Regions from separate parts of the Homo sapiens genome. Here all the other regions are linked to region 1. Evidence: promoter capture Hi-C in 16 types of primary human blood cells and fetal thymus (Javierre and others, 2016). All regions are on one chromosome and are shown on one strand. Each heading gives the region's core, a stretch centred on a gene start or on the middle of the fragment in contact. The rest is flanking DNA. Distances are from core to core; before and after follow the strand shown. Region 1 holds the start of SUCNR1 (succinate receptor 1). Region 2 overlaps MED12L (mediator complex subunit 12L). Region 3 overlaps MED12L (mediator complex subunit 12L). Region 4 overlaps MED12L (mediator complex subunit 12L). Region 5 overlaps IGSF10 (immunoglobulin superfamily member 10). Region 6 holds the start of IGSF10 (immunoglobulin superfamily member 10). Region 7 overlaps LINC02066 (long intergenic non-protein coding RNA 2066).

The links. Contacts are between HindIII fragments. The CHiCAGO score rates a contact against its expected background, and 5 or more counts as called.
Region 2: a contact is called between a fragment that was not itself captured here and the fragment with the promoter of SUCNR1 in region 1, in 2 of 17 cell types (M2 macrophages and monocytes). The highest score is 6.8, in M2 macrophages.
Region 3: a contact is called between a fragment that was not itself captured here and the fragment with the promoter of SUCNR1 in region 1, in 2 of 17 cell types (M2 macrophages and monocytes). The highest score is 6.2, in M2 macrophages.
Region 4: a fragment that was not itself captured here is called in contact with the fragment with the promoter of SUCNR1 in region 1 in 1 of 17 cell types (neutrophils); the score reaches 6.0 in neutrophils.
Region 5: a fragment that was not itself captured here is called in contact with the fragment with the promoter of SUCNR1 in region 1 in 1 of 17 cell types (M2 macrophages); the score reaches 5.2 in M2 macrophages.
Region 6: a fragment that was not itself captured here is called in contact with the fragment with the promoter of SUCNR1 in region 1 in 2 of 17 cell types (endothelial precursors and megakaryocytes); the score reaches 5.8 in endothelial precursors.
Region 7: a fragment that was not itself captured here is called in contact with the fragment with the promoter of SUCNR1 in region 1 in 1 of 17 cell types (monocytes); the score reaches 6.5 in monocytes.

The regions. Positions count from the first base shown.
Region 1 is chr3:151,871,825-151,875,397 of GRCh38, forward strand. SUCNR1 (succinate receptor 1) reads left to right here and starts at 1,819. Exons shown (of 3, transcript NM_033050.6): 1 at 1,819-1,882. The region is part of intron 1 of AADACL2-AS1 (AADACL2 antisense RNA 1); the gene reads right to left. The HindIII fragment of the contact is 8,098 bases long and covers 1-3,573 here.
Region 2 is chr3:151,371,399-151,374,971 of GRCh38, forward strand. MED12L (mediator complex subunit 12L) reads left to right here. Exons shown (of 45, transcript NM_001393769.1): 27 at 1,169-1,368. The region is part of intron 1 of P2RY12 (purinergic receptor P2Y12); the gene reads right to left. Among named protein-coding and RNA genes, the nearest start is that of P2RY12, 12 kb to the right of the region's middle. The HindIII fragment of the contact is 7,321 bases long and covers 1-3,573 here.
Region 3 is chr3:151,388,257-151,391,829 of GRCh38, forward strand. MED12L (mediator complex subunit 12L) reads left to right here. Exons shown (of 45, transcript NM_001393769.1): 38 at 1,723-1,879. Among named protein-coding and RNA genes, the nearest start is that of P2RY12, 5.3 kb to the left of the region's middle. The HindIII fragment of the contact is 3,347 bases long and covers 99-3,445 here.
Region 4 is chr3:151,414,797-151,418,369 of GRCh38, forward strand. It overlaps MED12L (mediator complex subunit 12L), which reads left to right. Exons shown (of 45, transcript NM_001393769.1): 43 at 1,516-1,626. Among named protein-coding and RNA genes, the nearest start is that of P2RY12, 32 kb to the left of the region's middle. The HindIII fragment of the contact is 4,689 bases long and covers 1-3,573 here.
Region 5 is chr3:151,441,065-151,444,637 of GRCh38, forward strand. It overlaps IGSF10 (immunoglobulin superfamily member 10), which reads right to left. Exons shown (of 8, transcript NM_178822.5): 7 at 1,920-2,820. Among named protein-coding and RNA genes, the nearest start is that of IGSF10, 18 kb to the right of the region's middle. The HindIII fragment of the contact is 9,167 bases long and covers 1-3,573 here.
Region 6 is chr3:151,459,544-151,463,116 of GRCh38, forward strand. It overlaps IGSF10 (immunoglobulin superfamily member 10), which reads right to left and starts at 1,518. Exons shown (of 8, transcript NM_178822.5): 1 at 1,403-1,518; 2 at 718-804. The HindIII fragment of the contact is 2,173 bases long and covers 493-2,665 here.
Region 7 is chr3:151,555,283-151,558,855 of GRCh38, forward strand. All of the region lies in intron 1 of LINC02066 (long intergenic non-protein coding RNA 2066), which reads left to right. It also overlaps a transcript of IGSF10 not described here. Among named protein-coding and RNA genes, the nearest start is that of LINC02066, 4.9 kb to the left of the region's middle. The HindIII fragment of the contact is 1,066 bases long and covers 1,475-2,540 here.

The sequences.
Region 1 (3,573 bases), core at 569-3,068:
GGCTACAGTCTAGATGACGTGTTCTATGAAAAAGGAGAAGCATAGACCAATTTTTGTCTTAGCAGCCAGAGTGAGATGGTAGTCAGGAAGTGGGACGAAGAAAGAGGAAGCTCTCGGGAACTCCCACCACCCCACAAAGGGGGAATTACTCTTTTCTTCCATCAGAATGGTGGCAGAAACCTGTGAAATACATCCATTTGTCTTTGTTTCTTGGAAGGGGTTCATGTTAATTTATGTCTAAAATTAACAAGCCTGGCATTGGTTATTCAAATGCTTTTTGCCCTTTTAAAAATATAGACAAAAATAATGTTTTAACCTTTCTTCCTTCTAAAAGTAGAAAAGAATTGCATTACTGAAAAATACCTGTTATTAATTCTTAGACTTTGTTGTGCACAAGGGTATTGTCATTCAATTCTGTAGGCAGTCAAGAATCAGAGTCGGTGCTTTTAGAATCCAAGTACATAGGCTTAAGCTCTGGTCCCTCCCGTTATTGATTCTGCAATCTTGAGAAAGTTAATTGACCTCTCTGAACCTTAGCTTTTTAATCTGCAAAATGAGAAAAATCTTAAATAATAACAACCTCAGAGGATTACTATATGCATTTGATGCATAAAGGTACTTAGTGTAATACCTGCCTGCCACATCACAAGAACTCAACAAATTATAGATATTTTTATTTCATGTAAATGCACATGTTTGTATACATAAATATTCATACATGTATAAATATATTTTACACATGTATATAAAGTGTGTAATATAGACACATATGTATGTATATATGTATGTGTATATATACATACATATATTTTGAGTTCCTGAGTTTTTAAGCTGTCAGATATTGGTGAGGAGAAATGCTTAGTTAGGAGGATGCCTGTAACAGAGCTTCTTTTTGGGCTTCTGCCTGTCATTGCTAACTCAATATTCAACTTACATAGCATTTAAATTGAATTACTGCTGCCTGCACAATTATGGGCTTTCTTAGTATAATCCCTATGCTTCACATCAAGAAGACTGAGTGTTTACTTGAATCTAAACCTAATATAATGCTTGGAAAAAGCCAGGTGTGCTTCCTGTCTGAAATGGTGGTAATGTACTTCCAGATGTTTTTCAGAGCATTGATTGGGATATATAAATTGCCATCTATTAAGGTTATTTTACTTAGCATCTCTCTCCCTAATCCCTAGCTATCTGATGTATCTTTTATGTGTTTCTTGATTTTAAGCACAGAAAATAAAATGGAAAATAACTTGAAGCTCTAGTATCTTTTTGCTAGTACACCAACATAGCATATATCCAGGTTTCCCTTTAAAATTTCAGTTTTATAGTTCCCTCAAAGTTATTGAAAACAGAGGTTTCGTTATTATATTCTCAATACAGAATTCACTAAGAAAATTAATTTTAAAAAAGAAGAAAAGCAGAGGCAACTGTATTCCCAATATAAGCAGTATTTACCACTTCTTATTGTGTAAATATGCAAATAAAATGAAAATAAGGAATGCTTCTCTGTTGCTTTGGTAGTGGATAAAATAAGTTCAACAGTGTTTTTCTAAAAATCTATTTGGTAAATGTGTTTCCTGTGAAATGAGTTACTTGTTTTTTGTCATTCAATTGCAAAACTGCATGTGAAAATAAAATAAATGTGAATGTGAAAATAAAAGCCTCACAAAAATTCCTCTGCATGAACATCTCTGACTGGGAGGTTTGACTGAATAAATTATTCCTGGGCTTTTGAATTATTAATCTTGGCTGCAGGATATGCAAATAGGATATGCAAATAGGACACTGTAATAACCATGTCCAGTGGCACAACACTGGGTCAGAAGCTATATCCAGCTGCTGGCAGAGTTCCTGTCAAGGGATCAAGTCTTCCAACAGAATGGTAAGCTACATGGCAAATTGTGCCTCTCAGTGTATAAAGTAAGGCCAGATTTCCTTCTAAAGGTGACCTGTGAGCAATTAAGGTTTTCAGTATTAAGTGTTTAAATTAATTCTTTATAAATAGATGTAAAACAGCAAAATAATTGAAAAAAAAAAGTCATTTTTATCTCTACGTTTATTTTTCAACAAATTAACTGTCTTCTTTTAGTTGTCAAATACTAATTTTATTTTATGTAAAAGGATTTATTATATTTGCTAACATCTCAACAACTTATATTTCAACAAAATAGTAATTGGATTTACCTAAATAAATATAACTACTTATGGGGAAAAATTAAAGTTCCTAAATGATTTGAAACAATCATGTATTTGATACATACACACACACACACACACACACACACACACACATATACATACATATATATATATATATATATATTTTTTTTTTTTTTTTTTTTTTTTAAGACAGAGTTTCACTCTTGTCACCCAGGCTAGAGTGTCTGAGTGCCAGAGTGACACATTTACAGCATGTGTTGGCTCACTGCAACCTCCGCCTCTGGGGTTCAAGCAATTCTCCTGCCTCAGCCTGCAGAGTAGCTAGGATTACAAGCGCCCACCACCACGCCCGGCTATTTTTTTTGGATTTTTTAGTAGAGATGGAGTTTCACCATGTTGGTCAGGTTGGTCTCAAACTCCTGACCTCAGGTGATCCACTCATCTCGGCCTCTCCAAGTGTTGGGATTCCAGGCATGAGCCACTGTGCTGGGGCATAATATTTTTATGTTTAGAAAATAATGTATTTGGGGGAATTTTCAGGCATCCTAAAAATTAAATTTAACATTTATGTGTGTAAAAATGATATTACCCAATAATTAATTTACTTAGGAAAAATGAAAAATTGCAGAAACCATTTCTATTCTACCTTCCATAACTTTTCAAAATGTGTGTGGTATTCTTAAAGAAGTTAATACACAATTTGTGCCATACTATTACTTTTTAATACCTTAATTTCTGGTGTAATGTATGGAATACATAAAAATAAAGTTACAAATGTTAAATTATTATATCTTTTCAGTGTGAATATATATTTTTGCTCAAATTATTTAGTAATCAAAAAAGTAATTTGTTAAAAAAAATTCTCATGTTACCATGTAAATTTGCCTTAAGGTAGCACTTAAAAGTAAACATTTTACAAATGTTATTTGTTTAATTGTGATGACTATAAAAACAAACAATTAAAAAGCTAAGAAACTATCACATATATATTTTAAAGTAAATTTCAAAAATGCAGATTTTCAAAAGGCTGAATATATTTAAAGTAAAAAACATTTTCAAGTTAAGTATTATTGGTCTGCTTATGTGAGTAAATTAGATATTGCTTCTAGTTCAATAATTCTAACAGTTTTAGATATATTTTTGGACTGGAAACTAAAGATTTCACTTTAATTTCTGCTCTTAAAAAATACCTATTCAAAATAATTCATCCAAATCAGTTACAATTTATTTATCACTATTTCCATTTCCTAAAAATTAAGAATATAGCCACTAGATAGCAGAAGAGAGAATATGAATTTTTCATGAGGGAATTTTCTCTTTAATTGGGAGTTTTGCTTAAAGGAGCAACTTACTTCATATGTTTATAGAATTGCGATGCCACACTAAAAACATACCCAACTATAAACATATCCA
Region 2 (3,573 bases), core at 582-3,081, 500 kb before region 1:
AAGTGATCTATTAAATGAAATCCTGTGGGTAAAGTGAAGCTGGTACTCTTTGTGTTTGTATTTTAATGAGAAACATATGATTATATATTGATAAATTGAAATACATTATTTATTCCTCTCCTCTGCTTAAGATTTTGTTAGTAAATACTCAGTAAGCCATTTTTTTCAGCAAAGTCAAAACTTTTTCTTGGTTGACTTGTGGGTTTTAAAAGGCTTTTTCCATTAACTTGGGCATTGTTTTGCCCACTTGCTGCAAGCAGTGAAGGCCTACTGTAAAAGCATTTGTTGGTTCCAGGAAATTTTCTTGTCAAGGCCTATGATCCTGTGAGTAAAAGGCAAAAGTTTGAAGGCTGTGCTGTCATTTGGCAATCCTTATTTTGAATTTTTATTACTCTCTCACTTTTAAAATATGATAGTTATTTGTCTCTCATGGCTAGAGTTTTCTTATTTCTAGCTATTCAGACATTCTGTTTAGTTTCTTTCCCAGAACTTTGTTATGAAGAAAACACTTTCCTTAGCTTCATTTCACTAAGTATACTAAAGATTTATCAGGTAAGGTTTTCTAATTTGTATGTTACAGAGAGGAAGGTAAAAAAACAGGGGTTATTCAATGAATGCCCTACTTTTCAGGGCTTCCTTAGTATGCATTGCCCTTTTCCATTCCCAGGGAAATAAATCTCTCTTGTCAAGAAGTTGATAGTAAGGTGGGCTAAGGCAAAACTTTTCTCTTGACCTATGGATAGAAAATAAGTCATTGTAAGAGAAGAAATGGAAAAGGGACATCTAGAAGGGTGAGTAACCCATTTTTTCCTTGTCTATAAGTCAAATGAATTTGAATACATTCATGCTTGAAATATTGGTGAAACCAATGTTCTCTGATTACTTAGTGTGATTCATAATGGCCTTTCCAAGTTTGGTGAAACTATAATTATACAAACAAAATAAGGACCGAGTCTTGAACTTGCTTTTTCTCCATTTCTGTTAGAAACTTCTCTGGGTTCATGCATTTATGCTCTTGATCCATTCTCTCTATTCCTGAACAACTGGCTATTCAATAATAATACTGTTCATATATTTTAAATCCCTGAATGCTATCCTCATTTGCTCCTCAATTATTTGGCAATATTTTGAACTTCTGTGATTTTGCTTTTGTGATTCTATTACTTAGGAGATGCCAAAATTGGCAATAACAGTGTCAGCTCTTTAAAGAATGATGACTTCACCATGAGAGGTTTGCGATGTGATGGGAATGCTGATGATATCTGGACTGCCTCACAAAATCCAAAATCCTGTGGGAAAAGCATTTCCATAGAAACTGCCAATTTAAGAGAATACGCTAGATATGTACTGAGGACTATCTGTCAACAGGTATTCTAATTTAATTTGCCTTTTACTTTGAGTACGTAACTCTTCTTTTGGAGAGAGCTACTTACACTTATAGGAAACTTGTGCATAGGTGGGCCTTTTTTTCTTGCTCACTTTATTTCGAAATAATTTTAAGTTTGCTGAAAAGTTGCAAGAATTATTTTTAAAAAACTCATGTCCATCCTTTACACGGATTTACTAATTTTTACATTTTGCTACATGTGCTTTGTAATTTGTATGTGGAGATGTGGGTGCATATACCTATTTTTTCTGAATCATTTAAGAGTAGATTGTATATTTTATTCTTTTGAATATTGCATTATTTCATAACATAACCAAAATATAGCTATTAAACATCAGAAAATTTAGCTTTTGGTACAGTAATTTTTTCTCATCTATAGGCCACAGTTCGATTTTATTAATTGTCCCAGTATTGTTGGATTTGTCTGAGGTTTCCTGTAGATTAGCTTCAGATTATGCATCCCTGGCCAAGATACTACAGAAATAATCTTGAGTTCTTTCAGGTAATCATGTCTGAAGGCATGTGATGTCCATTTGCACCTCAAGGGTGATGTTAATTTTGATTAAGATGTTTCCATTGTATAGTTTCAAGATTAGTAACTATACAGTGGGGACTGTGTAGTTACTAATTTTCCCCTTGCAGTAAGCAATCTTTGAGGAGATACTTCGAGACAGTGCAAATTTTCTTCTCCTTGTTTAACTCCCCCACCCCTCATAAGCATTCATTTTCATTCTTGCCCAGTCTAGTCTTTACTATGATGGTTGCAAAATGGTGGTTTTTTTTTTTCCCCAACTTCTCCTCTCCCTTCATAATATCAGTTTGTGTCCTATTTTAAGGAAGAGCCTGCCCTCCTCTCCCCTGTTTATTTATTATCCATATGGGTTATAATATACTGTACTTAGTTATTTTCATGTTCAGACTGTCCCAGATTTGTGCAGTAGGAATCTATTCATCCTATCACATCATTTGACATTTTAAAAATAGTTGGTATTTTCATAGTTTCTGGCCCATGTTGTACTTTCTCTGCCCCGGGCCTGGAATCAACTATTCCTCCAAGGAGCCCTTGGTTCTATTTAGCAGAGAACGTTACTGAGAAACCAAGATCTGGGTATTATGTATGCTCATGGTTATGGAGTATCATTAATTCTACGACCTGTCTGCAGACAAAGCTAGAAAGAAAAATATATCCATACACTTAAATATATGTAAATATATATATTTATGAGGTCCTACTGATACCTTCAATTCCAATCCAACCCCACAAAGTTGTTCTGTGTTTTCCCCTAATTCATATTAGTATCACCTTCTTCCCTAGTAAGAATGCTGATTCCCAAAAACGTCAATTTACTTGTTTGTTTAATTCTATGATACATCTGAAATAGTTTTAAAATGTTACACATGGCCGGGCATGTTAAATGTGCTATCCAGCGCTTTGTCAAAAAATGATTAATTAAAATACAGTATCAAAAATGTACACTAGGCTAGGGCGCAGCGGCTCAAGCCTGTAATCCCAGCACTTTGGGAGGCTGAGGCAGGTGGATCACTTGAGGCCAGGAGTTTGAGACCAGCCTGGCCAACATGGTGAAACCCCATCTCTACTAAAAATACAAAAATTAGCCAGGTGTGGTGGCACATGCCTGTCATCCCAGCTACTTGGGAGGCTGAGGCATGAGAATCGCTTGAAACTGGGAGGCGGAGGTTGCAGTGAGCCGAGATTGCGCCACTGCACTCCAGCCCTGGTAAGAGAGCAAGACTCTGTCTCAAAGAAAGAAAGAAAGAAAGAAAGAAATGTTACACACATACCACTAGGAAGAACAAACCTACCTAAAAGGCTTTGAAGATTTGTTTGCAATTCCATTTTCTCTAAGGGTTTAAAATACTGTGTTCAAAAATTATTTGAACTTTTCCCATCCCTATGAGTGTATTCTTTATGTGAAATAGAACTAGGTTCATTTGGTTTTGCATTATTTAAATTCCTTTCTTGTCCCCAGCTCTGGCTATAGAATAGCTTACTTTCAAAAGTGAAACTATACAAAAAAGTATACTCAGAGATGTGTCTCCCTCCCATATCCCTCTTACCAGATGATCCAGTTTTATTATTTTTTGGTTTATTCTCCCTCCCATATATTTGTTTTAAAAGTTCTCTTATAAAAAAAAAGTGACATACCTTATATATTATTTTGTAC
Region 3 (3,573 bases), core at 522-3,021, 480 kb before region 1:
TTACCAAGAGCAGGATAAGTTTTGTTATGACAGTTCTCCTAACAGGTTTCTGCATTAACTGAATGGCACACAATGACTTGTCACAGACAAAAGATTAAAGCTTTTGATTTTCCGTCCTCCACTTTTAATAATTTTATTTTAATTGTAGGCTTCCATTGTAATATTTAATTAATATTTCAGTGCCTCCTAATTTCCTCGGGTTTGAAACTTGAAATTTTTAGAACTATACAATCCCATTCTCTCACATATTTTTAATATGTCTAAAATATTTATTGTATTTTAAGTGGTTGATATCTTCAGTAAATTAACATAAAAAGCTCTATTTGGTTTTTCTTTGATAAAACTTGGAGTTAGCATAGCCAATAGGATGTTCCTGAGATTTTATGTTTTACTATTCCATCTTACCCTCATATATTTTCCTTCTTTACCATGTTTTCAGACTTTATAAAAGATGAAAATAAGCCTAATTTAAAATAGTTTTACTTCTTGTTTCTCTATTAGTGTTCCCCACGTATAATAATCTTTTCATTACAACAGAAATCTATTTGATGGTGATTTAGAAATAATTTTATAAACCTTGAGAAGTAATGCATAAAATGTTTTTCTATTTAAATTAAATTAAAACCTGGAAAATATTTGATAGAGGATTTGAGACATTTTTAATGAAATTCCACAGCATTCTTGCTGCACAGTGGAAGAAATATTCACCATTTCATTCAGATATTCATGATTGGTTATTGTTTACCTATGTGAGAACTAAAATACATCTTTTCCTAGCTGATAGCTTGGTGATTAATACTATTTTAGAAATGACCACCACCACTTTAGGATGCCACTTGAGCATCAGTGCCCCCTTCTCATTCAGTCTTCCTACCAGTATTCCTTTGTCTTGAAGGGAAGTTTAAAATGGTCCAGACTGACACTCCCTCAAATTTGGGGTTTCCAGCCTGTCAGTCCACGTGGATGGGCTTTTGTTCTTTTCTGATGAAAAAGCCCTGAAACCAATCCTGCTCCCCAGGTCAGTCTGGTCATGTCCCCTCTTCCTCTATTCTTCCTGAAGCTCCCTCTTTTCAATGAGATATGCTCTTCAGTAAAATTGCAGGGAAATGAGATTTTGTTTCTCTTCCATCCTCTAGGGCTAGACTAGATGAGGGAAGGTAGGGAAATTGAGACCTTCAGGTGTGATCCTTACAGGCTTTGCAGCTACTATAAGGAAGAGGAAGCATGGGGGATGAGGGGAGTGTCTACTTCTTTAGAACGATGTCTGGAAAATTGCAAGTGAAATACCATCTTGGCCAAAGAGTGGTTCTGAAGCACTGTAGGGCTCTCTGGCGTAATTCTCCAGACCCAAGATATTGGAAAGGCCTTCTAAGATGAAATGATCATGAGTCTTAGCAACTGAAGGTGCTTTTTCAGTGATGAGTGTCGTTCAGTATTGGTATTCCTGACACACTTGTAGTCTTTTGAAATAGAATTCAGAAGAGATCCTTTTCCATCTCTGCCCACTGCAAGCCAAGCACTGTTTAAGTCAAGGAAAAGTTTACCTCAAATGAATATTTCCAGGGGATTTATTAGCACTCTTCCTTCCATCTTCTCCTTTATAAAAAACAGCTTTGTACATTGGGATAGGAGGTACCTCAGATAGCTTACTGAAGTTATTTGCATTAATTAGCTGTGTGATATGTGGAGTTACGTAACTTTTTAAAAAACTTTATGTTGAAGGAATATCCACAGAGCAACATATACCGAGTGCCTCCTAATTACTCGCCTATCTCCTCCCAAATGATGCACCATCCACAGTCCACCTTGTGGGGTTACAACCTCGTGGGCCAGCCCCAGCAGCCCGGCTTTTTCCTTCAGAACCAATCTCTTACTCCAGGTATGTGATGAGAAAGCACAGATCACTCAGAGATGAGAAACAGCTTGTGGTTCTCTTTGCTTTTAACCTGAAACCTCCACAAAACTTGGACATTTCAACCACTGAGTGCTCAGTTGACATTTCTGTAATTCCCTTCACACAGAAATGTTTTTTGTTTTCTAAAATAGGTTAAATTACGAGTTTATGTACTGATTTTGGAACTTTTATTTAGTGTTAAAAGGAAATTAGCTAGTGATGAAAATCTAAGCTGTAAGATATAAAAGTTGATAACGGTTTTATGTTATAAAATGTGTGTATTTTTATCAGATATAATTCTTATTGGCATTTTAAAAGATTACACAATATTGCACAGTGTCTTTTATTGTTCTGAATTATCATGACAGCTAAGAAAATTGGTTCAGCAAGATTTAGATAACAACAAGGAAAACTACCATAGTAAATGTTCCTGATTTTAGTATTGCTTTGGTTCAAGCCCAAGTAGATTTCTCGTCCCAAATGAAAATTTTCTAAATGAAAACATCTCTTAATGAAAAATGAATTCAATTTTCTTTCTATATGAAACATTGCATGTTTTAGCATATTTAAATTATTTGAAATCTGTCAGCATTGTTAGGATGTGCCATTTTAACAAATAATTTTTTAAATTTTTCTATTGTGATTTTTATTATAACTTGAGTTTGACATTTTGAGGTCTGTGGAAGAAAATGTTTCATTTATGGCTTATAGCAGGGGGAAATCCATATTTTGTCCTCTAAATTAATGGTTAAAGGAACTGGTCTGGTAGTTAAGCGTTTTAGATTCAAATCTGGTTCTACCACTCTCTTGCTGTATAATCTTGGCCAAATCTTAATTTCTCTGTGCCTCATTTTGGTCATCTGTAAAATGAATATGCTAATACCTATTCCCATAGGGTGGGTGATTCAGTTATTTATTCAAGAATGTATTGAGCTTCATGATACAGTGGACCCAGTTTTGGATGCTAGGATATTGCAGTGACTAAAGTGTGCAAAATACCTACTTTTTAAAAGATGAAATAAAGTTTATGTTACACACACATACATATGTAAGATTTAAAAGTAAATTGTAATAGTTATATAGCCTTTTGAAGGTAGCCTGACCCCACAGACATGTTCAGTAAGTGATCTTCACATATTCCTAGCTCAGGGCATTTGTGCTTGCTGACCCCTGTGCCTGCAGTGCTCTCCCTCAAATATCTACATCACTTCCTGCCTGTCTCCGTTGGGCTTGGTCACATTACTTTCTCACTGGGGCCTTTACTAACCTGTTTTAAATTGTAGACCCATACCCCTTCCCTGTACCCTCTGTTTCTCTCTTTTTTCTGTTTCTCTGTTGCAAGCACATCCAATCTTTTGGCTTCCTTGGGCCACATTGGAAGAAGAATTGTCTTGGGCCACACATAAAATACACAAACAATAGGCGATCAACTACAAAAAAAAAGAATCACAAAAAAAACTCGTAATGTTTTAAGAACGTTTACAAATTTTTGTTGGGCTGCATACAAAGCCATCTTGGGCCGCATGCAGCACACAAGCCATGAGTTGGACAAGCTTGCTCTACAGCATCAGACTTGCTTATATCTTACTTTCTTATTGATTTATTATCTTCCCAGAATGTAAGCCTCGTGGCAGATATTTTTCCTATTATGTTCACTGCAGTATCCCCAGAACTTAGAG
Region 4 (3,573 bases), core at 537-3,036, 460 kb before region 1:
TGTATAGATGTTGTTTCCAATGGTAAAAGCTCTCTAATCCTGTTTTGTCATGGAAATACTTATAGTACCTATCTCTTAAATATGTAGAAAGGATTAAATAAGAATATTCAAGTAAACCACTCATTTGATAATTTTACGATTAATGTTATGACTATTATCATTACTATGAGTACTCACTTTCTTAAATCATTTTTTCCAAGTTCTGAGGCTATGTTTCAGAATTTTTTAGGATTGATAATTTATATTTTGCTCTAGTTTAGAATTTCTCATTTCCAAATCACTGAGGAAAGTTACCACATTATTTGTTTACTTACCAGTTTTAAATCTTATGTTGGTGTTTTTCAAGGCTGCAAATACGGAAAGCCTTTTCTTATTAGACCATATGTACTTTTTATCCTAATTAGCATAATATGTCCTTCTGGTAATTTTTTCATCATCAACACATTCTTCCCTGGAGATAAGTGATTTGCTTCTACAACAGGATTATACTTCTTTTTTGGTGACTGGCCACCTCTGTAAAGGAAAAAGTTAATAATGATGAAGTTGGGTTAATTTTTCTTAGAAGAGGTTCTAGAGGGCTAACTGGAGAATCATATTGCAGTCATTGTGATTTGGGTCCAACTTGCGTTGTTCTTGTTGGGATCATGCTACCCAGACCTCTGCTAGGATTCCAGATCCATGAGCATTGTCACTTAGTGAGACATGCCATATGGCAATAGCTATTTATTAGTTGGCTGTAAAGCAGACCAGTAATTGAGGGGATAGTATGCAAACCAAGTTGGAAAAGTACAAAAGATGAAGAAATGTCTAGACTGTCATCATTATCAGGATGAAGTGTTTGGGTGGAGGAAATTTTAAAGGTCATTGAAACAAAACAAAACAACTATTAATATTTTTCTCTCCTCTGTGTCCCACCTTGTGGATGTCTGGTCTGTGCTTTTTCTGTGACTTGGAAGCATTTTCCAAGAGCTGTGTGTTTGAGCCAACCCTGTTACTGACATGATTTCTGAATTTCTGATGTAAATTATGCCAGAAGGTGTCATGGCGACTAGTCTGCCTCTTCCTTTTGGAAAAAAACAAAAAACAAAAAAAAACCTTTAAGAATTCTGCCAGATATCATAAAGAATGAGAGGATTACTACTGAGCAGTCCCCGTCCAACCTGTAGTGTAAGAAGGGATAAAACATGCGGAAGGACAAAGGACATGAAAGGAATTAAAACAGTAAGCAGAAGGGATGGCCCCGGACAGCGCAGTGTGGAATAGACAGCAGTACTGACTGCCAGTGGAAGAGATCCGTAGGGTTGGGGTGGTCCTAGAAGGCTTCATGGATGAGCAGGTTTAGGTCTTGCCCTCAAAAGGACGAATGAGGTTCAGCAAGGTAGAGATGCAGCAGGCAGGTATATATTGTTTTTACTACAACATAAAAATTAGATAAAAGGTATATGGGGGAAACAGATTCAGCAATGCTGTTTTCTTCTTCCTTTTAAGTGTATAACATTTTTACCCTCTTTCCAGATGCAGCAGCCCCAGCAGCCCCAGCCCCAGCAGCCTCCCCAGCCCCAGCAGTCCTCGCAGTCCCAGAGTCAGACCCTTGGTCTCCAAGCAATGCAGCCCCAGCAGCCCTTGGTAAGGCCTGTTGTTTTGGAATCAGACATGTGGGTTTCTTCTTTAAAAGCAGGTTGCATTGTTCATGTTCATAAGATTGTTAAGAATCGACAAAGCCTAAGTATACCCTAAAAATTTTTCCTAGAACTTTACTAGAGTTTTATTGTCATTGTAGTTGGTATATTTATTTTCATAGGAAGATACAAGTAAATATTTGGGATTCAGTAGGTTATACCATTATTCTTCAAAATTTTTCGGACTGTTCCACAGACAAAATTTTTTACATTGAGACGTGGTCTTTTTTTCCTAAACAATGATAAAACGATGATTTACTATGTATGTTTAAAAGAGTGTCTTACCATACTTTGATTTTTACTATAATCTCAAAAACCATGGGCGCACTTTCTAAAATATTATCTATTATCTTCAATAAGAAATTGTTTTTCATTCAGTTAGCACTTGCTGCAAGAGTTTTCATGTAACTCACAGTCGGATAGTTCACTTCTCTAGCTTCATAAATCAAATTTGGAAATGTCATATGCATAGCCATCAAAGTTTTCTAAACCTCAGTCATTTACAACAGCCATATTCCTGTTTCATTAATTACTTTTTTTTAAACTGTCATCTTATTATATTTGCTTAAATAAATGTAGTTTTCAAAGAAGCATTTTATCATTACCATCCATAATTATATCACTTGCCACATATTGGAAATATCTGTGAAAGTAAATACAAAAATAATTTAGAAGGGAATCTCCATTTAACTGAGTGATGTGAATTGCATGAATGAGCCCTACCTACGATGAGCTGGCTGACCGCTCATGTCTCACACTTTGAGAAACACTAGTGTAGACTGCCTTCAGCACAGGATTTTTAAACTAGCTGGTTTCACAACTTGTAGAAAAGGGGGAACAACGTGGTATAGAGATAGTACATGTGGAGGGATCAGAGTAGAGTTAGGTGGTTAAAGAACTGCGTCCAAATCAGATTGACCAGAACATGGTCAACTGGAATAGGGCATCCATAGTACATTTAACAAACTCTGCGTAAGCCAGTTTGTTCCGCTCCCCCAGCTCCCCCCCCGCCTTTTTTTTTTTTTTTTTTTGAGACGGAATCTCACTCGATCACTCAAGCTGGAGTGCAGTGCGATCTCAGCTCACTGCAACCTCCTCCTCCCAGGTTCAAGCAATTCTCCTGCCTCAGCCTCCCAAGTAGCTGGGATTACAGGCACCTGCCACCACACCCAGCTAAATTTTGTATTTCACCATGTTGGCCAGACTGTGGTCTTGACCTCATGACCTCAGGTGATCCACCCACTTTGGCCTCCCAAAATGCTGGGATTACAGGCGTGAGCCACTGTGCCCGGCCTATTCCCCATTTTTAAGTTAATTCTTTTTAATTATGGATCTAGTTTTTCCAGCTCTGATTTAAAAATATATATATGTTTGTGACATTTACTGCAATCTACTTCAGAAAACCTTCTTAAAGTAGAGGTAGTATGTAAAACTGCACTGCCTGCCTACCTATCCAATGTGTATTAGCAGGAACTGGCTGTTACTTAGCAAATGTTGTAGAAGAGATTCCTTTGGATGCACCACTGTTAGCTGAGTCTAGTGTCCCGTACAAGAACGAGATACACCTTTTGTTTTGAAATAATTTCAAATGACAGAAAATTTGCAAGAATAGTACAAAGAATTTCCATAAGCCCTTTACCCAGATTTACTAATTCTTAACATTTTGTCACATTTGCTTTATTATTCTCTCTTTCACTCCCCCCACCTACTGCCATTTAAACATACATGTGCCTCTTTACCCTTAAGTACTTTCACTTTTTTTTTTCCAAAACAAAGATATTCTTTTATAAAAACTGGGTATTATTAAAATTAGGAAATTGAACATTACTACAATGCTTTATAACCTATAACTCTTTTGCAGATAGACAAATTAATGCTCTTTATTGCATTGATT
Region 5 (3,573 bases), core at 644-3,143, 430 kb before region 1:
TATTAAAACAAAATCAGAGCTCCTGATTCAACAAATTCCCAGACAATGCTAATGCTACTGGTAGGGGGTCTTCCCTTGGAGAAAAACTGGCTTAGAGTGATATCCCCTGCACCCAAGATCTGATGCAACTGGAGATTGTGACATATAACAGACAGAACTATTGATGTTTCTTTTTATAAACTAATATTTTTGAGAGAGATAATTTACTTTTGAAAATAGAAGGTTTCCCAGAGTGGAAGACAGAATTCTTAATAAAGATTAATGCAGAGGCATCTTCAGCCTCTCCAAAGCACAAAACTCACATTTCATAACTCAGCATTTAAAAATTCTAAATCTAAACAAATTTCAATTTAATTTAGGTGATTTTTGATGACATTTGAAAAACTTGAGAATTAACATTTACTTTTGAACTAAAGATCACAAGTTAAATTTATTAGCTGTATTCAGTATCAACTCGTGTCATTAGAAGAAAATCTTCAACTCCTAAGCATGAGTACAAATTCACATTTACTATGTGTAATTTTTTTGCATGGATGTTTTCTATTAATGAATAAACAGATATATAAGATGGAAATTCTCATCCTCATTTTTTGTCCTGTAATGGAAAACCATTGTGTAAAGTCATGCCACTTGCAAAAAAAAACCTCATAAGCTATAATTATTGATTTTTGAAGATATAATTTATATAGAAAGCCAGCTATAAAATGAATATTGAGGCCAGGCACGGTGGCTCATGCCTGTAATCCCAGCACTTTGGGAGGCTAAGGCGGGCAGATCACGAGGTCAGGAGATCAAGACCATCCTGGCTAACATGGTGAAACTCCGTCTCTACTAAAAATACAAAAAATTAGTCGGATGTGGTGGCGGGTGCCTGTGGTCCCAGCTACTCAGGAGGCTGAGGTAGGAGAATGGCGTGAACCTGGGAGGCGGAGCTTGCAGTGAGCAGAGATCCTGCCACTGCACTCCAGCCTGGGCGACAGTGCGAGACTCCGTCTCAAAAAATATATATATTCATATGCCTATAACAGACCAGAGAAAGTGTGTATTTGTATATATGTGTCTCATCACATCAGAATGCGGGGGCCCTGAATATGTTTCACTTGGTGGAGGTCTTAATATTGTGACTTTCACAAAGTGCTTTGTAATTTTAGGAAAGAAAAAATTAAGTACTGATTATAATGAAGTTTAAAATGTCGAATAGGGGACTCAGACGAGTAAAATAACGGAGTGTCTCTCTCTAGAATCTCCACTGCATCATAAAAATTCCCTTCTCTGTTTTGTTTACAGAGAGTGTGAATATATTTATACAATTACTATTTTTTTTTTTTTTTTTGAGACAAAGTCTCACTCTGTTGCCTAGGCTGGAGTGCAGTGGTGCAATCTCGGTTCACTGCAACCTCTGCCTTCCAGGTTCAAGCAATTCTCCTGCCTCAACCTCCCAAGCAGCTGGGATTACAGGCGCCCGGCCACCATGCCCGGCTAATTTTTTTTTTTTTGTACTTTTAGTAGAGATAGGGTTTCACCATGTTGGCCGAGCTGGTCCTGAACTCCTGACCTCAGGTGATCCATCTGTCTCGGCCTCCCAAAGTGCTAGGATTACAGGCGTGAGCCACCGTGCCTGTCCTACAGTTACTATTTTAAAACTGTGCCAAGTATGGAGATAAATGAGATTTTTTAATTCTGCCTAAAATATAAAAACCCTAAGAAGTTGACCCTTTGAGTTAAGCATGTGAAAAGAATGGTTTTTGTATTCAAATGATCTCAAAAGATTAGTTTTTTTTGAGAGAGTTTCCTTTATGTCCAAAGTCTATGTGTACTCTAAAACTGCTGCTAGCCTCACTGTGTCACTTTTTCCATTTCAGAAGTTGTACAGCTAAATACATAAAGCAGATAATTCCAACCCAAAGGTATAGACTTACCTATGCTGCTGGTCGACCACAGCCTTGGATGGTAACCTCCACATTATTTGGGGTTTGGGCTCCCCAGTGGCTGAGCAGTTCAGTAGTAATTTGTCCCCAAAATTCACTTCAGTCCTTTTCTGGGATGCAGCTTCTATCCTGGGGCTGGTCACTCGCTCTTCCATTGTAAGCATTACTACTCTTCGCTCCGAACCAGTGGAACTGGTAGCAATGCATTCATAAGTGCCCCTGTCTGAAGAGGCTAGGTTTCTTATATACAAAGTCCCATTTGAAAATAAGAACAACTTGGAATTGGTAAACTGTAATGGTTTCACTTCAGTGCCATCAGAGAGGACCCAGTAAACGCTGGGCTGAGGAGTTCCTTTTGCAGTACAGGGCAGTTTTAAACTTTCACCCCAAGTGCCTACAATGACTTGCCTCCTTTGCTCTAGAATAACAGGTGGTGCTGCAATGACTTGTATTTTAACCAGCAGTGAATCCTGGCCACCTGGGTTGCTGGCCACACATTTGTAAAAGCCACGGTCATAAATACTGAGATTGTGGAGGACCAATGTTCCGTCAACCGTCACCACAGCCTGCCTACTTCCCTGGGATGATTCTGAGACAACTGTTTGGTTTGCAAGAATCCAGGTAACTGTAGGGCTTGGCCTACCTTCTGCTCTGCACTTCAGTTCCACAGTGCTTCCGGAATGAACTGTGATCTCTTTGGTACGTCTCTCCAGGATCCTGGGAGGATAGGAAACCACAGACAAGGTGACATGAAGGTGGTCTGTGCCAAACAGATTGGATGCGGAACACAAGTACTGTCCGCGGTCCTGAATTTCCACCCTCTGGATGGACAGGGTACCATTGGGGAGAACCTGGACCCTGCTATTCTGTTTCCTCTTAGATAAATCAAGTCCTGAGAAGAAAAAAAGAAAATTATTGCTACGGGTCATCAAAGTTTATTTAGAAAACATAAAGCTATCGTTTTTTGGGCTACTAAGAATACATTTAAATTAAAATGAAAGCCCAGCCCTATGGCTCACTTGTATAATCCCAACACTTTGGGAGGCTGAGGTGGGAGAATCACTTAAGCCCAGGAGTTCAAGACCAGCCCTGGAAACATAGTGAGACCCTGTCTCTACAAACAAAAAATAAAATATTAGCTAGGTATGGTGGTGTGCACTTGTAGTCCCAGCTACTCAGGTGGTTCAGATAGGAGGATTGCTTGAGCCCCTGGAGACATGATTGTACCACTGCACTCCACCCTAGGTGACAGACCAAAAAAAAAAAATTAGGACATCTAGTCTTCAGATTGCTAAAATTATTCCTGGATTATTTTATTTAATTTTATTTTTATTGAGAGAGTTTCACTCTTGTTGCCCAGGCTGGAGTGCAATGGCACAATCTTGGCTCACTGCAACCTCCGCCTCCCAGGTTCGAGCAATTCTTCTGTCTCAGCCTCCCGAGTAGCTGGGACTACAGGTGCCCACCACCACACCCGGCTAATTTATGTATTTTTTTAGTAGAGTAGGGGTTTCACCATGTTGGCCAGGCTGATCCTGAACTCCTGACCTCAGGTAATCCACCCACCTTGGCCTCCCCAAAGTGCTGGGATTACAGACGTGAGCCACTGTGCTCAGCCTGGATTTTTTTATTCACATAATTTTAC
Region 6 (3,573 bases), core at 329-2,828, 410 kb before region 1:
ATGATGCTGTCTGCTTTTGCTCAGCTTCGGACATCTCTCTGCCTTTTTCCTTGGTCCCTCCTCCAGCTCATGGCTGCCACAGGAGGTGGGGAGCATAACCAGGGAAGAAATATGCTCAGCTTGTCAGAAAAAAAAAAATGGTATCTGTTACCCATATGTGGGGCAAGCCCAGGAATTCAAACCTAATTCTCTCCTGAAATGCAGGATTGAAATAAACTCTTTATTGTGCTTTTCCAAGCAAAATGACCTTCATAATTTGTAATAAATCCCACCGTTCTGTGGAACAGCATGATGTTGGATTCCACCAGCAACCACCCTTTAGCTACAAACTACACTGAGAAATAACACTGGGGCTGAACTGCTTGGATTTTCATACAGATAAAAAGATGATGGATGTATTATTATAATTTAGTCCAAATTAAAATTTAAGATAGGATTAATCATATGACCACTTTTGCCATCGTAACCACCTGGTTACAATAATTTTAAATAAGCTTTGTATGATTGGAGACAGCATTTCCACCTTATCATTAGATAAACAAAGGAAGGAACAGCAGGATGAAGGTAATTCTCTCGTTCAGCTTAAATAAAAGTTCTGGGTATGCCCACGTTCAAATTATTTAAAAGAGGATCAATAGCATAAGACAACACATGAATAAGGGATTCTCACAAACGTAAGGCTGAAAATGTACATAATGAAATAGGAATTGGCAATACCTGAGCTCTTCTTTCAGGTCCTGAGTCCTCTTGTGACATAGGCAGAGACAGAAAATCTTCCCAGGAAATGGAAAATTGTGTCCAAACCTGAGGGAGGAAAAGTTCTCTGCTCCAAAGTGAGCAAAAAGCCTTATTCTTTTTGGCTTACAGCCAGGAGTAATGCTCTTCAGGGAGACCTGGAGCCGCTTCCACAGCTTCAAAGTTCTATAACTCATAACCACATTAACCCAGAAGCGTTCTTTTATTATGATGCTTGCTGTTGCAGAAACAAAAGGCTAAGTGGAGGTTTTTAAATTTCCTTTCTCCTCCCTCAGTAGTGTACTTAATACTCCTTAAAGTTATCACTTGAATATTAACTACTACTAATCACTCCATTTTGCTCCAAAGTCCCAAGAGCTTCTCCTCAAATTGTCTTTTTTGGACAAATCTGTCACAGATGTCTCCATCTATTGATTGTCTTTCCTCAGTGTGTGTTTTTTTTTTTTGCCTGGCACCAGTCACCGAAGAATTGTCGTGTGCTTTCATGCCCCCACCTTCTCCGGGTGCGTCTTCCCTCCCCCACCCTCAGCCCTCCCCGCCCCAGCGCCCGCTTCTGCAGCCACGGTACTCGCTCCATTCCCACGCCAAGCCCCAGCCGGCGTGGGGTTCCAGCCCTTTCCGGGGAAGGATTGGCCGAGGCGCTCACCTGTTTGCCCTGGTGACCAATGGGCTCGAGCTGCCCGGGCTAGGTCCCGGGCTCGGTCCCGGGCTCAGCTGCTGGGGTCGTGCGGAGCTGGTCCGGAGCTCTGGGAGGGAAGGAAGGAAGGCGGAGCGAGGGCGGGGGATGAGCCCGACTTCTGTGTCTGGGGACGCGGCCGGGGCTCAGCAGCACAAGGATGAGAAACGACCACCGGGCCCCTCTTTATGTTTACGAGCGTGTGGGAAGCTAATTCGCCGTGGCTTCACTCTTTAAATTCCCAGGGCTTTCTCCTAGCAAGTTGGCAGGTCCTGGCTGGGTGGCAGAGCAGTTTCAGTGGCCGCCCGTTCATTTCCTCCTTGACCTCTTCCACCTGTTGACAGGTGGGCCTTTTGGTTTAAGGGTTTACGTAAATCGCCGCAGGCTGTCCTTGGTCCTGTGGCTCCCAAAGTTCTATTTGAAGGCTAAGTTAGCGTTAATGACCTGTGATACCTGCAGTGTCAATGTTTTATTTAAACCCCTCTTTTAAAAATAAGTAAATTATATTGCGTATATTTAAGGTATACAACATGTTATGGGCTATATACAGATAGTAAAATGGTTACTATAGTGAAACAACATATCCATCATCTCACATAGTTACCCCATTTTTGTTTTTGTGACACGAGCAGCTAAAATCTACTCTTTTAGCAAGAATCCCAAATACCATACAATTTTATTAACTATAGTCCTCTTGCACATTAGATCTATATAAATGTATGCTACTGTGTATTCTCTGATCTACATTTTTCCATTTCCTTTCTCCAACCCCTATAACCACTATTTAATTCTCTATCTCTGTATAATCGACCTTTTAGAAAAAGATTTCACATATATAAGTGAGATCATACACTATTTTTCTTTTGGTTTCTGGCTTATTTCACTTGGCATAATGTCCTCCAGGTTCATCCATGTGTGACAAATGGCAATATTTCCCTTTTGTTTTTTAACTGCCAAACAATATTACATCGTATATAGATGTCTCAGAGGAATTCTTTTAAATCATTATCACAGAACCGGATTTAAATACTACTATTTCTGCTTGGATTACATTCTCCTTTCTCATCTCCAACCCTACCATCTGGAGGCAGAGATGCCTCCAGAATCACCTCTACCAACTTGCCCACATGTAATATCTCCTGCAATTCTTGGTGGGGCTCCCAATACTCATAAACACTGAGTTAACATAACTAAAATGACCTTGTTTCCTTCCACGTAGTTACATAGCACTTAAGCTTTTGATGACAATTTGCAATGAATGTTTTAGGGCAGTGGATCTCAAGATAGGGTCACGGGTCCAGCATCAGCATTACTTTGGACTTCGTTAAGATCAAAAATTTGCGGGATCCATCCCAGACCCACTGATTCAGAAACTGTACGAAGGAGGCTTAGGAGTCCATGTGTTAACAAGCCTTCCATATGATTCTGATGCAGCTACAATGTGAGAATTGCTGGTTTAGTGAAATAACTTCTGAAAAATGTTTTACAAATACCAACTCATTTCAGCCTCACCATAGCACCAAAAAGCCTAAAAGGAAAGTATTTATGTTATTCCCATTTTACAAGTAAGGTACATGAAGGAAAGTGACAGAACTCCAGGCCATGTGGCTTGTGAGTAGAAAAGCCGTTAATTCAAACTCAGGCAGTCTTGCCCTATGGTCTGAACGTTTAACCATAAAGTTGTGGCTGCCTCACTTAGCTAAACATGGATAATGTGCCATATCCCATGCCGAGCATTCATGTGATTTATGGTTAGTAATAAGTCAGTTACCAAAGTAGAATTATAGAATCAGAGACTCAGAGTTAGAAGTAACCCTAGAAGCATGTATATGAACATGGTCTTTAGCTCTGCAGAGCTGACAAGATTCTTTTAAATTAAAAATTCACGTGATGTCCAAACTTGGATGCTTGCTTTGGAAATGTGGCATATTTGTCGGGTTTTGGCAGCCACAGTTTATCTTTCTCCCAAAGCTCCTTGGTGACCAACCTCATGGCTTCGTATTCTTTAGTCAATTTCTAACCCAGGTCTGGACTTCCAGACCTCAACTAGGATGAACCACAGAAAGATGACAGCAACATGTTAAACTTATTTTCCTAGGCTTGTTACCTGGGGTCATTTTCTTGCTATCAATTTCAAAGTG
Region 7 (3,573 bases), core at 758-3,257, 320 kb before region 1:
GCTGCAGATGATAAAATGCTACATAAAACAGATGAGACAGACAAAACACTGGCCACTTTGCAAGCAGAATTTAGAGGGAATAGAGAGGAACTAGGACTTACACGGTTGGAAAAATAAAGCTATTTATCATCTTCATCTAGTTGAGTCAGTTAAAAATTCATCAAAGTAATATTGGGATTAAGGAAATGATCAAATCAAGCGTGTGGATGAAAGAACTCTTGTTAAGACCTCTGAAGGAATTAAAGTGGTCCATGGTATACCTCTGAGCCTACAAAAGTCTGCTAGGAATCATAAGGGTCTCATCTCCCAGCTGCCTGACCTAATCAAAGTAGCACTGATTGAGTCTAGAGAACAGGGCCTGTTTCAAAAGAATTATGGGTGTTGTGAGATAAAGGAACAAATGTAAGAAGACATGTTTACTCATTTCTGCTTGCCAGCATGATTTCACAAAGCCCCTGCCTCTGTAACAATGTGCAGCTCTCTGCAGAAATGCTTTGAACACAAAACAGGATAGAGCACGCAGCCCCCCATGTCTCTGGCCTGTGTCACTATATTCCTTAAAAGATAAATGACTCTAGTCCTTGCCTTTCCCTGCAAATAAAAAACATCTCAAGGGGTTAGTAATTACGCCTCTGTAATCTATAACCAGATATGCTCTTACACTCAAACCTTGATATGATTCTGCCTCAGTGTAACTTCTGAGCAAGTTTAATGTGATTTCACACATACTGAACCCTCACTACTTGTATATGAGCAGTGGGATGAAATACTGGGCTGCAGCAGTCTGACGGAACTGCTCTAGGGCTACAGAGGCCCCGCTGGTTAGTCCTCAGTAAGAATTCTGAGTAAAACTAACTTTCATTCTTTAAAAGCTTGATCTTTATTTTTCTGTAGCCAGTGGTGTGAATTTTGCCAAATGACATGTATGCTAATCAGATTCACAGGAAAATTACAAAAAAATATTTAGAGACTTCCATGGGTAAAAGTACCACTAACACAGACTAAAACGATGTGAGACTACCCAAAATGTATGAAAGTCTTTGGAATCATAACTTTCTTTGTGGAAAACTAAGCTGAAGAATGCACTCAATGAGCACACTTTCCCTTGCTCTCTCATGGGAGTTTTGATGAAACAGACCAGTTATGCTAAGGAAAAGGTTATGTTATGGAACAGGTTTTCTGCTTGCATATTGAAGTCATGCAAAAAATGGAGAGAAAAACTGAACAAGATGTAAGAAGCTTTAGTAAACAGTAGCCAAATTTGTTAAAGAAATACAGTAGAAGGGAAAAGAAGAGAGTAAGGAAGAGAGAGAGAGAGAAAGGAGCAGACAGAGTCATGGAATGTGTTTCAAAGAAAAAAGATTTCAGTACATAGCACTGGAGAGTAAGAAGAATGCTGACACAATCTCCTCTCCAGCCTTTGAGAGGATGGTAGGGGAAATGGTAGGTAAGTTTCAGATTAAAGATGTAGAGAAGCTTGATTGTTAAGTAGTTGTGCATAGGGAGGATAAGTTCCTGTTTTCATAGAAGTCATGTTTTATTGCTTAATGCCTTGGGATCCTGTCTGGCTGACCATTCGTTCTGTCTATAACATGCCAGTTTGGATAACCATTTCTCTGGTCATCTTACACAAATGATCGTTGTAAAGTCTTTTAGAAGGAGAGGAAGAGTGGGAATTTCGGTTTGTGAGGAAAATGTTTATTTGTTCAATGTATGAATGAAGGAGAATAACAAAAGGTGCGGTAAGGGGAGAAGGAGGATGAAGAGAGTTTTAGGTTTGTTGGAAAGTTCAAACATTTCCTCTGAAGGTTCAATAACTGAGTCTGCTGAAATAAACTGACAATAGACAGGTTAACAGGAAAAAAGCTATACATATTTATTATGTGCACTTGTGCATGGGAGTCACACAAAATATGTGACTCAAACAAAGGCCAGATGGTTGAAGCTCAAACACCCTTCCTCTTCATAGGAGAGCTGTAGGCAATGTTAGGGGAAGAGTAAATAAATTTAAGAGAGGTGAATGGGCCTGAAGAACAGACAGTTGTCCAGGACAAAGTTCTCCTGGCCTCTGGTGTGGTGCCAACTCCAGTCTTCCTTCCTGTGATATGCATCAATTTCCTTTAGTTGATGAGAATATGTGGGGAAGAAATTTACAGAAGTTGACTATCTTCTGAAAGATCTGGCCTTTAGTTAGACGGAGGAGCCTCAGAAAAAGCCCTTCCCTTCCCTGCATTTGCTACTTCCCAGATGCTCTCAGTTTGCATACAAAGGGGCATATTATGCAATGATGTTTTCTGAGCCCCCAACAAGTTATGTGAGTGACCCAAGATCCTTAGCATGTAAGATAAAGTAGCATTAGCTGGCTTTAAGGATTCCATTAGTATCTTTGTGGATAGACTTCCAATCTCTCTGGAAAGAAGAGATTCTGCTTCTAATACAAGAAGAGTGAGTGGACTGCTTAGTTTCCCTGTGTGCAAATAGTGGCACTCTCCTAGTCTGGGATCGTTATTTGCTACAAATGATCTCTTTGTTTATTACTAAGCTTAACATTTCCCCTAAGTTTAATGTTAACTCATCTTCAGTATATTGTCTACATTTTAGAGACATCTTCACAAGTTGGGGTATAGTTTTTCTTTCTTATTAAAAAAACTCCGTGAGCTGTATTTCATGCCTTGCTGCTTAATCAATTTTAACAGATGCAAAGCAAATATAAAGTATATATAATATATATATATAATATATATATTGGTACAATATGTTTGTCAGAATGATTCTGTTAGGAAGAGCTTTGGAGAATTCTAGTGGATAGATTCTATTTTTCATGTATAATCTTTACGTACAGTCACAGGTTTCCACCTCCTGAATTTTAGGAGTGTAACACTGAAGCCAAAGTTGGCAAAGTTTCATTTAAAAGACATGAGATATGAGAAAGGCCTTAAGTGTCCAGTTACAGTAACCCAACAAAAAGAAATCATTTCCATTTCACTGAGCAGAATAAGTCAGGTAGATTTAGAAGATGCAATTGCCAAGTTCTTCGGGTTAATTCTAGTCACACTCTCGCTTCAGGTTGGCTTTACTATCACAGAAATTACCCAGGCTTGATGGGAATAAATGGAATGAAAGACCACAAATGTAGGTCATGCCCATTCAAGACACTGCCAAGCACATACTCTTGCTATACTATTGGGGTTTAATAATTGCTGTCACATGACTTCAGAAGTATGCCCCATGAATACATTTTTTTTTTTTTGAGACCGAGTCTTGCTCTGTTGCCAGGCTGGAGTGCAGTGGCGTGATCTCAGCTCACTGCAACCTCAGCCTCCCAGATTCAAGTGATTCTCCTGCCTCAGCCTCCCGAGTAGCTGGGACTATAGTGAATACATATTTTTCCTACTACTTGATGCAGAAGTTGGCCTAAGGAGGTCACACACTGAAATCCCAGAGCTTGCCAATGAAAATGTTTGGCATAGTATGGCAGAACTCAGATTTGTCATCTCTGGAGGGGTCACCTTTTGACTCATGGTACATGTGATTTCATTTTTGAGCCAGAATGAGTCTGTTAGGAGGAGTTTT